4 separate regions of the Homo sapiens genome follow, and all the other regions are linked to region 1. The links are contacts of gene promoters, found by promoter capture Hi-C in blood cells and fetal thymus (Javierre and others, 2016). All regions are on one chromosome and are shown on one strand. Each heading gives the region's core, a stretch centred on a gene start or on the middle of the fragment in contact. The rest is flanking DNA. Distances are from core to core; before and after follow the strand shown. Region 1 holds the start of DPH5 (diphthamide biosynthesis 5). Region 2 has its middle 30 kb from the start of S1PR1. Region 3 has its middle 9.0 kb from the start of S1PR1. Region 4 has its middle 49 kb from the start of S1PR1-DT.

Region 1 (3,151 bases), core at 168-2,667:
AATGTTTATTTTCCTAATGTCTAATGATGTTTAGGATCTTTTTTTGTTTGTTTAAGATCTTTTAAAATAATTATTTGCTATTTGTGTATCTTCTTTGGTGTCTATTCAAATCTTTTGCCCATTTTTAAACAACGAACTGTTTTATTATTGCTTTCTGAGTGCTCCTTATATATTCTCCATACAAGTCCTTCATCAGATACATGCTTTGTAAATATTTTCAGTATGTGGCTTCAAGTCTTTTGAAGAGCATAAATTTTTACTTTGTTGAAGTCCAATTTATCAATTTTTTTCATCACGCTTTTGGTTTAAGAAATATTTGCCTAAATAAGGTCACGAATATTTCCTCCTATGTTTTCTTCTGGTATAGGTTTAGGTTTTCCATTTACATCTACGATCCATTTTGAGTTTTTTGGGGTGTGTATGTGGTGTGAGGAATAGATCAACGTAATGAGAGGGGATAAAACACAGCCACGAAGAGTTTATAGATAGGAAGTGCAAAAAGGTGGATGGAACCTGGGAATGAAAAAAAGCCAAGGTTCAAGGAAGCGGAGTTGGGCATTGTCGGGGAGGCAACAGGAAAATTCTGAGTAACCAACACTGCCTGCTAAGAAAAGCAATGACAGCTGTCTTTTTTAACTTGGATGAGGTCACCTTGGGAAGAGCATTTTCAGTCAAAACAAATCTTCCCTATTTCTAATTACATGTAACCAACAGCTTTATAAGAATTCCCCCGGCAGAAACACTTGAGAGGTCTGAAATCCCTGAGCACTATTAAAGGTCACTTCTTTAGGTACAGGAAGGTCTGGGATTCCTGACACTGAGGGTGACTGAAACATCCTTGGGGCACTCCAGGCATAAGGTCTTGGGGACAAACCCAAGGAGTCATTGCCTTGTTGGGAAATCAGAAGCACACTCACTGCTGGGTTTGCCAATCTCACGCTTCACCAGGAAGACACCTAGTTGAACTACAGGAGGATGAGAAGACTGGAATTAAAATCTGTGCACTCGGCCAAATCCGGGGACAAATCAGGAAAATCCTTCCCAGCCCTCCCTGTTTCTGGAGAGGAGGAGTAGGGCGCAGGGCCCCTCCCGACTCTCTTCCACGTGGCTCCTCTCGAGCGAAGAGCTACTGCACTTACCCAGGCTTAGGAAGCGGGTGTTTAAGCCATGGGTTAGAGGGCTCGTGAGCACGCCCGATCCTTTCCCTGAGGCTATGAAACGGTGGCTCCACGGACTCCTCTCGGCCGACTGACCTTTCGCCGCCCTGCCCCAGCAGCCGGCGGGTTTCTTCAGTGGAGCCGGGCTCTGGTCTCCGCAGCCCAGTAGCCCGCTAGCCCGGCCCCCTCCCGCTAGTCGTAAAGTGCAGTAAAGGCACCAGCATTTTGCGGCACCGTAGGTGAGGCCGGCGGCGTGGGCCTTTTCTCTGCACGGAGCCGGCGCTTTTGCAGTTGCTTCTGCGGAAAGGTGGTAGTTAAGAATTTGTAAAGGCCAGAGAACTACCTACGATTCTCTCAGCGGGTAATTGGCTGCTCCTAGGTTTGTGTAACAAGAGGCAAAACTGGTAGGGTTGTTTAAAACCTCTTATCCCAGTTCTTAAGCGTGACATAAGGTTCCCAAACCCCTCCTTGTGACTTGCCTCTTCTCTTGTGCTACTTTGGTTGTCATCGTGTTCATCACTAGATTTTAGATGTCCTCGGTGTTACTGACGGTTTTTCTGTCCACTTCGTCTTGCAGTCTCTCTTCTCCTCAAGTTTGAAATGCTTTATCTCATCGGGTTGGGCCTGGGAGATGCCAAGGACATCACAGTCAAGGGCCTGGAAGTTGTTAGACGCTGCAGTCGAGTGTATCTGGAAGCCTACACCTCAGTCCTAACTGTAGGGAAGGAAGCCTTGGTAGGTGCTGAGCGTTCCCCAGCCTCCTGGGAAGAAAGCTATCTAACATCTGATTTTCATACACTAAGCTGAACAGAATTTTCAGGTCTGCTTGTTTAAACCCTTTGAAACGCATCCCTTGTTCATTAATGATCTGAGGAGCAGAAGAATGGAAATTTTACACCAACCAAGTGACTTGGAAAATGAAAGGGTGCTTTGTCCTATTTTACAAGTCTAATTTTGTGGCTTTCTCCAGTAAATAGGAAAGCTATTTTATACTCCTGGGGGATAGTTATCAAAACCCCTTATTTCATGAGGTAGTCAAGAAACCCTTTCTGAGTTGAGTGCTAATGAGGAGCTGACACAGCCTTAATGAGTTGGTTATATATATTCAAAAACCAAGCTGAAAGCTTCCCCCTTTGAAGTGTGTCCATAGGGAATGGCGATTGCCTTTTTGTATCCTATCCAGAGAGATCTTATCTTAAATAGACTATCTCCCAATAAGGCTTATACTGATACACTTGTATATATTGAGTGAGCCTGGACTTAATATATAAAAATGTATGAGTATACACTTACATGAGTATACACTAAGTAACCAAAGTATTTGTTAGTATATTATACATTTATAGTTGGCCCTCATAAGGGCCCAGTAAATTTGGGGGAAGGGTCAACTTCAGGTTCATTGTCAAACTCTAAGTAGAATGTAAATCAAAGGATTAATACATATGTTATGGGAGGAGGGAGCAGATTTATTGTCATGTCTTCCAAACAAAAAATAGACTTAAAATTTTTAGGCCTCAGATTACTTTAAAATCTTATAGAAGGAATTAAGAACTGCTACTTGAATTGGCCATGCATTTAAATAAAAGTTGTGTGTAAAGACCAACTTTGATATATACATATATGTGGAGAGAGAGAGAAAATAAGTCTTGCTCTGTTGCCCAGGCTGGGGTGCAATGGTATGATCATGGCTCACTGCAGCCTCAGCCTCCTGGGCTCAAGTATCCTCCCACCTCAACCTCTCGAGTAGCTGAGACTACAGGTGGGTGCCATCATGCCCAGCTAATTTTTTGTATTTTTTGTAGAGACAGGGTTTTGCCACATTGCCCAGGCTGGTCACAAGTTCCTGGACTCTAGTGATCTGCCCACCTCGGCCTCCTAAAGTGCTGGGATTGTATAGGCACAAGCAACCACACCCAGCCTAAGGCCAGCTTTGATTTAAAAAACATTTTTTTTTCTCATTTTTTCACTCTTAGGATAGAACCAAAATATCTAAG
Region 2 (3,151 bases), core at 255-2,754, 240 kb before region 1:
TACAGTCACTGTTTATAGTCAGCTTGCACACACATACTGAGACCAATCATTGACAAACCAAGATCATGCTTTTTCCTCCTCTATCAGCTGGTCGTATGAGACCCCTTATGTGGCCATAGGTGTAAGCTGGGAAATAAACACTTGTGCAACTACGGAGAGTGATGTACTGTATACTCATGCCCTCTGGTCATACTTGGGCTTAACCTCGGAAAAACTATTATGATGAACAGCAGCTGGGCCTGCTCTAATTTGTGATTTGGTAAGTCCCACCTCTGACATTTCCAGCAAATTTGGGGTCAGTCATGGGCCCGAATGACAGAACTGCTTGCACCACAGCCTTGCTTTAGTGGACAGCTTTTTCCTGCTCTGGGCCTCACTCAAAGCTAGTGGTACTTCTAGGTGTATAGTGTGTTATCTTATACACCCACAAATGAAAGATGCCTGTCACACACTGAGCTTCCTTCTTTGTGATAAGGGATGCAAGATGTGCCTCTTAATTTGAAGGGGATAGTCCAATGTTCCCCAGACTACTAGATCCATACAAACTACATCAAAGTGAGAGGTCAATAAATCTTCATAGTGTTTATCTTGCAAGTGTCTTATGAAGTCTTCTAGAGTATTATCCAGTCGGCATAATGTCATTGATGGAATGAATCAATATGACTTGTAGCGAAATTTCAAGAAGATCCAAATATCTTCAGATTATATTGTGGTAAAAGGAAGAGGGTCAGCATAGCCCTGGATCAAAGCTGCAGTTGAATATTACTCACATCACATGAATGCAAATTATCTCTAATCTTCTTTCTAATTGGAATAGAAAAGAATCCATTTCCCAAATCAATGACCACACACCACGTACCTGAAATCTCATTAACCTATTTTATCTCATTTATCTAGCAATAAAACCACATCCAGCACAGTAGCTACAACTGGGGCTATCACTTGTTTGAGCTGTGGTTTTCTGCTGTTATTCTCCAGAATCACCCAGTTTCTGCAGGATCCAGACTGGTGCTGCTAAATGAGGATATGAGAGTGAGTAGTGACCACCATCCCTGCATTTTTAGATCTTTAATAGTAGCATTAATCTCTGCTATTCCTCTACTCCAGGGTGCAATTTTTCTCCATTTGCTGCCTTGGCTGGGGGAAGGGGTGTATGGACGGTTTCAAGAGGTTTCCACTTGGCCTTCTCCACTATGATATGGCCTTCCCCACAGGTCAATGATACAAAGTGGGGTTCCTCTGACTGCCAGTATGTCAATCCTAGTTATGCACTTAGAGATTTGAGAAAGGATCACTGGGGGTGTCTATGGACCCACCGTAGCTAGAATTTACACAGGCATTTATTTGTTACCTGGCCTCATCAAACTCCAATCTCACGGGGGCAGAAGGAGGACCATGATGACACTGTGTCTCTGGAGATGAATCAAATTAGACAATGTGTCCTTTTTTTGGGGCAGGGACTTCTGAATTAAGATGATCCTTCAGTGCTATCCCAAGTTGAGGTGAGAGAGTGGTGCCTTTGTACCCCTACTGGATCAGTCATTAGGTGTTAGCTGCCCTGAAGAGGCCTTATCTCTGAATATGTTTGCCCAAGATTCCCAGCACCATAGCTATTAACTCCTTGTTCCTGAAGGGACATTTGGGCAATGGATCACAGTATCTACTACAGGAATGTCCTTAGAAACAATGTCTGTAAGAGAGTAAAAAAGCATGATTGGGCGGAGGGAGAAGTTGAAGTGTGATGCAGTTGTAACAGAGTCCTCAGCAAATCCAGGGAGCTCTGGAACTGGCATGACCCTTCAGAGTTGTCCTGAACTCTTGTACTCTTTGTACCAGAGTTTGTACTCTTGCTTCAACCAGCATTGAATGCAGGCTGCCCATCAAAAAGGGATATAAAGCCGGTTGCCGTGGCTCATGCCTGTAATCCCAGAACATCAGGAGGCTGAAGAGAGCAGAGATCATTTAAGGCCAGGAGTTCGAGACCAGCCTGGCCAACATGGTGAAACCCCATCTCTACTAAAAATACAAAAATAATCTGGGCATGGTGACACATGCCTGTAGTCCCAGCTACTCAAAAGGCTGAGGCACCAGAATCAGTCGAACCCTGGAGGCAGAGTTTGCACAGAGCTGAGATGGCACCGCTGCACTCCAGCCTGGGTGACCCTGTCTAAAAAAGAGTGAGACCCTGTTTAAAAAAAAAAAAAAAAGGAAAGAAAGAGAGAAGTAGAAAAAGAAAAAGGGATATATAATCTTAAACCGAGGACAATGCTCAAGGAGGGAATCCTTGTGAGCTGCCAACAGTCAATACTCTCAACAGTTGGGAAAATGAATGCCTTAGTCTTAGAGGGAGTCTCTGGGTGGTGTACCACAATCTCCATAACAGGAATCAGCAGCATATAGACACTAACTCATGCCATGAATACGGATGAGATCATTAGGGAGAAAATATGGAGAGTAAAGAGAAGAGCATCCAGAACCTAGCCCTAAATCAAACCAAACCAGTAGAAGTCAGTTAGAGGACAGCTGGCAAAAAGAGATGGAGAAAGAGCAATCAGCATGCTAGGAGAAAATCCAGGAGAACAAAGTGTAACTGAAGTCAGAAAAGATAGAATTATCTACCAAGTGGAATAATACTGAAGGGCTAACAAATAAAAGACAAAAAACATGTCCATTGTTTTGTCAATATGAAGTCCACTGGTAATTTTGAGCAAAAATTATTTTAGCAAATGCAATACACAGAAGCCAGATTACAGTGTGTTGAAGGATGAAATGGAGTTCAGGCAGTGAAGACAGCATACATATTTATACAACTTTTTTAGTTTTACTGTACAAGGGAACATAAAAATGGGGGGAGGTGGTAGCTGAAGGGAAATAAGGGTTTACAGAGGATTCTAGGTCTTTTTGTTTATTTATGCTTGCTTCTTAATTTGGTATCTATTAGAGTGTGTTTGTAGTTGGGGAAAGAGACGAATGATGGTGGAGAAAAAATAAGAGAAGAAATAGGGACAATATTTGGTTGATAGAACAACTCAGTCCCAGGACAGAATTGGAGAGGATAGCCTTTGGTAAGCACAAAACTATGACAAAAGAAGATGGGGAGAGATGCAGGCAAGATTGTTGATTTGATGGTGGAGAATGAAGAAATTCCCAA
Region 3 (3,151 bases), core at 444-2,943, 220 kb before region 1:
ACCTAGGCTGCTCTCTCAAGTCCTCTACATGACTTTCAATGGCTCACTAGTAGATAAGTCTGCTTATCCTCTTGAGTTGTGAATTTTTCTCTCCTTTCCTTTTCATCCAAGTTGAATAAGGACACCACCTATGACTTATTCAAACGTACACTTCATCTGCACATTATAAACCAAGCAGCTCCACCTAGCACAGTTCACAATAGGGATCTAGGAAGAAAAACACAAACTAAGGAGAGATAGAAACTGAAGACAATGTTGAATGCTTTTATTTTACGGAGTTGCTTCTTGATCACATGGGGACTAGATGCTGAAAAATAGAATACAAATACTGATATTTACAACACCACCCAATAACACAAGGAACTTCTCTCCATTCCAAATATGAGTTTATTCTTCATTATTTAATTTTAAGTAATTTAGAGATATAAATTAAATAAAAGCCAATGATGAAAAGCTGCCAATATTAATTGTATTTGTTAAATGAAATTATTTTAGACTGCTAAAGAACTCAATATATTAGAGGAAGTGTACAACAATGAACAAACTCATGGGAAAAAAAGAACTGTTTCTTGGCTGGGTGCCGTGATGCACGTCTATAATCCCAGCACTTTGAGAGGCCGAGGCAGGTGGGTCGCTTGAGCCCAGGAGTTCGAGACCAGCCTGGCCAACGTGGTGAAACCCCGTCTCTACTAAAAACAGAAAAATTAGCCTGGCGTAGTGGCACACGCCTGTAATCTCAGCTACTCATGAGGCTGAGGCAGGAAAATCGCTTGAACCTGAGAGGCAGAAGTTGCAGTGAGCCGAGATCGCATCACTGCACTCCAGCCTGAGCGACAGAGTGAGACTCCGTCTCAAAAAAGGAAAAAAAAGAAAGAATTTTGTCTTGCCATATCAAGGTCCCTGGACCCCAAAGAGAGGGAGCCACAGGAGTGCCAGAGCTGAAGGAATGAATCCTGTGAGCTCTAGGAAGGCAGAACCTCTGTTTATATTTGCCCCTAGATCCACAGCACAGAGCACAGGGCAAGCATTCTTGTTGAGTGGATGAGTGGGTAAGTTTGCCGACCTATCAAGAGGAATGGGAGTAGGAAGCATGACCCACACCAGTAACTTTTTCCAAGGTTTTTCTTTCTGCCCTGGTATCAACAAAGCAGCAGAAAAGTGGAGTAATAATAGTAGTAGAGCTCTGGGGAAATGGATAAACAATTTCCTACGTCTCCCTGCTCCTTGTTAGCTGAGGTAACCATGCCCCCTCTTCCCTGTTTCTATTTCTGCTTTGTATCTAATCAGTCTGTCCAAGGAGCAGTGCAGCACCTGAGGCATTTCTTCTCTGTCCAGTTACTCCCAGAGATGGCTGAAAGAAAGACCCCTCAGACAGGGGAATGCAGGTAACAATGTGTCTGGCTGCAAGCTTATAAAACTCACAGGATGGGTACACGTGGACATAGAGATGGAAACAGGCTGGTCATGATGGCTCACGCCTGTAATTCTAGCACTTTGGAAAACCAAGGTGGAAAGATTGCTTGAGGTAAGGAGTGTGGCAACAGCCTAGGCAATAAAGTGAGACCCTGTCTCTACAAAAATAAATAATTAGCCAGGTGTGGTGGCACACACCTATAGTCCCAGCTACTCTGGAAGCTGAGACGGGAGGATTGCTTGAGCCTAGAAGTTCCAGGTTGCAGTGAGCTATGGTCACACCACTCCCCTCCAGCATGGGCAACAGAGTGAGACCCTCCAAAATAAATAAATAAGGGAACAATAGACACCGGTGTCTACTAGAAGGGAGAGAGAGGGAGGGGGACAATGGCTAATAAACTAGTTGTTGGGTACTATGCTCACTACCACAGTGATGGGATCATTCACACCCCAAACCTCAACATCACAGCAATATGCCTATGTAACAAACCTGCACATGTTCCCCTTGAATCTAATATAAAAGCTGAAATTATTAAAAAATAGATCCACAGGAACATAAGCTTGTCTTCCATATCCTTTGTGCTCTGCTATCTCTTCTAACAATGCAGTGCTTACACCCAGGGCGAGTGTTATTATCTGAATGAATGCCTTTTATAGGTTTGGTCAGGTGGCCATGATAAGAAATTGGCACACTCCAATTTGTATGTCTCCAGTACTAATATGTTTACATATCCTTGCAATGTATACAAGGTCCATTCTTCATAAGGCTATTTACAACCCATCATATATTCCTAAAACTGAAATCCAAATGTCAATAAACTTTTATTGTGACAGTTTCATTACATCTCTAGACTCTTTCAAGACACAGAAATTCTTCAGGGATTACAAATACCAATACTAAGCCAAATTCTCATCCTATGGAAGCAAAGAGTATCATCATGTCACAATTATTTAGCATTCTAAAGTTTTATTTCTGGGTCATGGGATAATACTTAAAAAGCGTATTTCCCTTTTATGAAACACTTTGGAACCTTTTCCACATTCTTTTTTTTTTTTTTTTTTTTTTTTTTGAGACAGGATCTCACTCTGTCACCCAGGCTGGAGTTGGAATGCAGTGGCCGGATCTCGGCTCACTGCAACCTCCACTTCCTGGACTCAAGTGATTCTCCAGACTTAGCCATCCAAATAGCTGGGGCTACAGGTGTGAGCCATCATGCTCAGCTAATTTTTTTTGTATTTTTTGTAGAAACGGGTGTTGCCATGTTGCCCAGGCTGATCTTGAACTCCTGAGCTCAAAGCTATCCTCCTGCTTCGGCCTCCCAAAGTGCTGGGACTACAGGCGTGAGCCACTGTGCACGGCTGCCACTTTCTACTGAACTTCATGGAACCTTCCCACAATTTCACAGAGAAAGTCTCATATAGTCCTTATACTCAGAAGTGAAAGTCTAGCATATTGATATTTTTAAATTTCACTGGTCTTAAGAATATGATTACATAAGTTTAGACAAATATACACATCTGAGTGAACAAGGTCCTAAAAATTAAGATAAAGAGCTTTGCTAACAACCTAGAAAGTTCCCTCGTGTTCCTTTCCAGTTTATCCTCTTACCCCAGGCAACCACTGTGCAGATTTATACCTCCATATATTAGTTTTGCCTATTCTGGAACTTTTACATAAAGGAAATCATGACGTATGTTCTCTTTTGTGGTTGCATAAGAGGTTTAAAATTCATGAAAA
Region 4 (3,151 bases), core at 249-2,748, 160 kb before region 1:
TGACTTCTCACAGATTCACATAACTCAATCAATCAAGTATTTATTAAGCATCAGTTCTGTACTTAGCACTGACTTGGGGAATGTAAATAAAAAGAGAAGAGTACAAATGTGGTTTGTGGCTGGCTGTGGTGGCTCATGCCTGTAATCCTAGCAATTTTGGAGGCTGAGTCAGAAGGATCACTTGGGGCCAGGAGTTCAAGACCAGTCTGGGCAACAGAGTGAGACCTCATCTCTAGCAAAAATAAAAATAAATTAGCTGGGTGTGGTGGTGCACACCTGTGGTCCCAGCTACTTGGAAGGCTGAGGTAGGAGGATCACTTGAGCCCTGAAGTCGAGGCTGCAGTGAACTATGCTCAGTGTCACTGAACTCCAGCCTATCTCCAAAAAAAAAACAAAACGTGGTTTGTTGTTGTGGAATGTACATTTAACTTAGAGCGAAAACACTGATAGACACAAGGCAATAGCAAGCTTCTCAGTGGTGCTGAGTATTTAAAGCCCATTAGAAATTTAAAAATTGTAACAGGTGTTGTTGTATTATAAATTTACATAACACTTAATGAAAGAAATTAATTTATATTTTATGCAATTCATAAAGGATCCAGTTTATGGATTGAGTTTCTAGATTAGGAATCTATATGAATATGAATGAGTATCAGTTTCTTATTAAAACGTAGCAGAAGATGACCCATTTTACCAGCCTGACCAATATGGTGAAACCTCATCTCTAATAAAAACACAAAAATTAGCCAGGAGTGGTGGTGGGCACCTGTAGTCCCTGCTACTCAGGAGGCTGAGACAAGAGAATTGCTAGAACCCAGGAGGTGGAGGTTGCAGTGAGCCAAGATTGCGCCACTGCACTCCAGCCTGGGGGACAGAGTGAGACTCCAGCTCAAAAAAAAAAAAATAGATGAACCGTTTTAGAGATTATGACTATTAGAATAACATAGTCTCTATTGCATTTTTTTTAAAAAAAAAAAAAACCCATATATCTGTGTTTTACCTAACTACCAGCATCTTTTCAAGTTGATCTGCTTTTCTAAGAACTAATAGGGAAGAACATTTTTTAAAAAATCATTTTTTAAAGGGCCCACAGGAAGCTGCCTGCTTAGTCACTCCTCAGAGTAAGCCTCACCCTTCCACATTTTGTTTACTCTTTCTGCTTTCCCTATTTATTGTTTTAAATTGAATTTCCATTCCTCTAGTGAGCACCATGTTCCAAGAAAAGCTGGGAAATTCAGTTTATATACACAGTACTGACTTAGCAGTAGGAATATAAAAATTTAATTTATTATTCAAATTAATAATATGTCATATGATACAATGAAAAAGAATTCAATGGGAGAACTAAAGAGCTAGGCATGTAGACTTAGGGGACAACCCTGAAAGGGTGCTGGTGCTCTTCTGTAGCCCATCTGTACGGTGTGGTGGAATGAAAAGAGCCAACAATTTGTCTTAGGACTTTTGCAGGGGGTGGTATGAAGAAAAGAGTCAGATAGAGCTGGGTGTGGTGGCTCATACATGTAATCCCAGCACTTTGTGAGGCCAAGGCAGGAGGATCACTTGAGGCCAGGAGTTGGAGATCAGCCTTGGCAATATAGTAAGAGCCTATCTCTACAAAAAAAAAAAAAAAATGCTGCATGCAGTGGCATGTGCCTGTAGTCCCAGCTACTCGGGGGGCTGAGATGGGAGGATCTCTTGAGCCCAGGAGTTTGAGGTTGCAGTGAGCTATGATTGTACCACTGCATTTCCAGCCTGGGTACAGAGCAAGACCTTTTCCAAAAAGAAAGAGAGAGAGAGAGAGAGGAAGGAAGGAAAGAAGGGAGGAAGGAAGGAAGTAAGGAGAAAAAGAGGAGGGAGGGAGGGATGGGGAGAAAGAGAAAGAAGAAGGAAAGAAAAGATAAAAGAAAAGAAGAAAGAAAGAAAGAAAGTATTAGTTCATTCTCACATTGCTGTAAAGAACTGCTTGATACTGAGAAGTTTATTAAGAAAAGAGGTGTAATTGACTTGCAGTTCCATGTGGCTGGGGGACACCTCGGGAAACTTACAGTCATGAAGGAAGGAGAAGCAGGCACATCTTACATGGTGGCAGGTGAGAGAGATGGTGTGTAAGCACAGGAAAAACTACCATATATGAAACCATCAGATCTTGTGAGAATTTACTCACTATCACGAGAACAGACCCCATATGGGGGAGAAACCACCCCCATAATCCAATCACTTCCCACCACGTCTCCCCCTCAACACCTGGGGATTAAAATTCAAGATGAGATTTGTGTGAGGACACCAAGCCAAATCATATTAGAAAGAAGAGAGAGAGAAAGGAGAGAAAGAAAGAATCAGACAGAATTCCTTTCTGAGATATATTTTTTTAAAACTGACATGACCTATGTCATTACCTTGGTTTAACTGGCATTTAAAAATTATACTATGCTATTACTATTTCTATTTCTTGCAGCTAAGCTCTATTGTTTCTTAGCTACAAACTATGAGGAAAACATACGAGGAAATCCCAGGAAGAATTAAGCTTTCAATTTTCTTTTAATTTCTTTGCTCGCAAATAAAATCAGCGTTAAAGCCTCTAGAAGAAAATCAGTACTGGTCATATACTGTTTAGGTAAGTCAAATGATATACATATTTATCTAGAAACCAAAAGTTCATTTTACTATTTTCCATACTAGAGTTTCAAAGGATCTTAGAATATTTTTCAAATAGTTGCAAATTTAGGTAGGTGCATACACTCAGGGGTAAAACATCAATGAGGTTGTCTGGTTACTGAACTGAAGAACTACATTTTTAAAAAATTATTTGAAAAATTAACAGATCCAAGTTAAAATATACAAAAAGGATCTTTAAAAACACTGTCAGAAGTAAGAAAACTAGACAAAACATTTGGCAAGTAAAAGAAAACTTGAGCTATAACCCATACAAACCTCCCTGCTGCCATAATATTCCCAGCTAGCACAAGATAACAGGATTCCATTCTTGTGATGTATCGGAGTTAATACATATCAAAGAAAACAATGGTTTCTGGTTAGTGAAGGTGCAATGTAAAAATTTACAGATCATATCATTCCGAACTGGCAAATAATATACATCAGGTTTAATCCACTGTGAACTTACAAAGAATATGGTACTGGCCCTATGGGACCG

What was found. The method cuts DNA at HindIII sites, captures the fragments that hold promoters and counts their contacts. A CHiCAGO score of 5 or more calls a contact.
Region 2: a fragment that was not itself captured here is called in contact with the fragment with the promoter of DPH5 in region 1 in 15 of 17 cell types (activated CD4 T cells, non-activated CD4 T cells, total CD8 T cells and 12 more); the score reaches 21.5 in activated CD4 T cells.
Region 3: a fragment that was not itself captured here is called in contact with the fragment with the promoter of DPH5 in region 1 in 15 of 17 cell types (naive B cells, activated CD4 T cells, naive CD4 T cells and 12 more); the score reaches 18.9 in naive B cells.
Region 4: a contact is called between a fragment that was not itself captured here and the fragment with the promoter of DPH5 in region 1, in 13 of 17 cell types (activated CD4 T cells, non-activated CD4 T cells, megakaryocytes and 10 more). The highest score is 11.9, in activated CD4 T cells.

What each region holds. Positions count from the first base shown.
Region 1 is chr1:101,024,050-101,027,200 of GRCh38, reverse strand. It overlaps DPH5 (diphthamide biosynthesis 5), which reads left to right and starts at 1,417. Exons shown (of 8, transcript NM_015958.3): 1 at 1,417-1,518; 2 at 1,735-1,892. The coding sequence starts at 1,758. DPH5-DT (DPH5 divergent transcript) reads right to left here and starts at 1,355. Exons shown (of 5, transcript NR_109849.1): 1 at 1,140-1,355. RefSeq lists enhancers at 1,486-1,595, 688-1,887. The HindIII fragment of the contact is 3,765 bases long and covers 1-2,283 here.
Region 2 is chr1:101,265,137-101,268,287 of GRCh38, reverse strand. No RefSeq gene overlaps it. Among named protein-coding and RNA genes, the nearest start is that of S1PR1, 30 kb to the right of the region's middle. The HindIII fragment of the contact is 7,306 bases long and covers 1-3,151 here.
Region 3 is chr1:101,244,424-101,247,574 of GRCh38, reverse strand. No RefSeq gene overlaps it. Among named protein-coding and RNA genes, the nearest start is that of S1PR1, 9.0 kb to the right of the region's middle. RefSeq lists a silencer at 1,976-2,176. The HindIII fragment of the contact is 565 bases long and covers 1,411-1,975 here.
Region 4 is chr1:101,185,471-101,188,621 of GRCh38, reverse strand. No RefSeq gene overlaps it. Among named protein-coding and RNA genes, the nearest start is that of S1PR1-DT, 49 kb to the left of the region's middle. The HindIII fragment of the contact is 2,056 bases long and covers 471-2,526 here.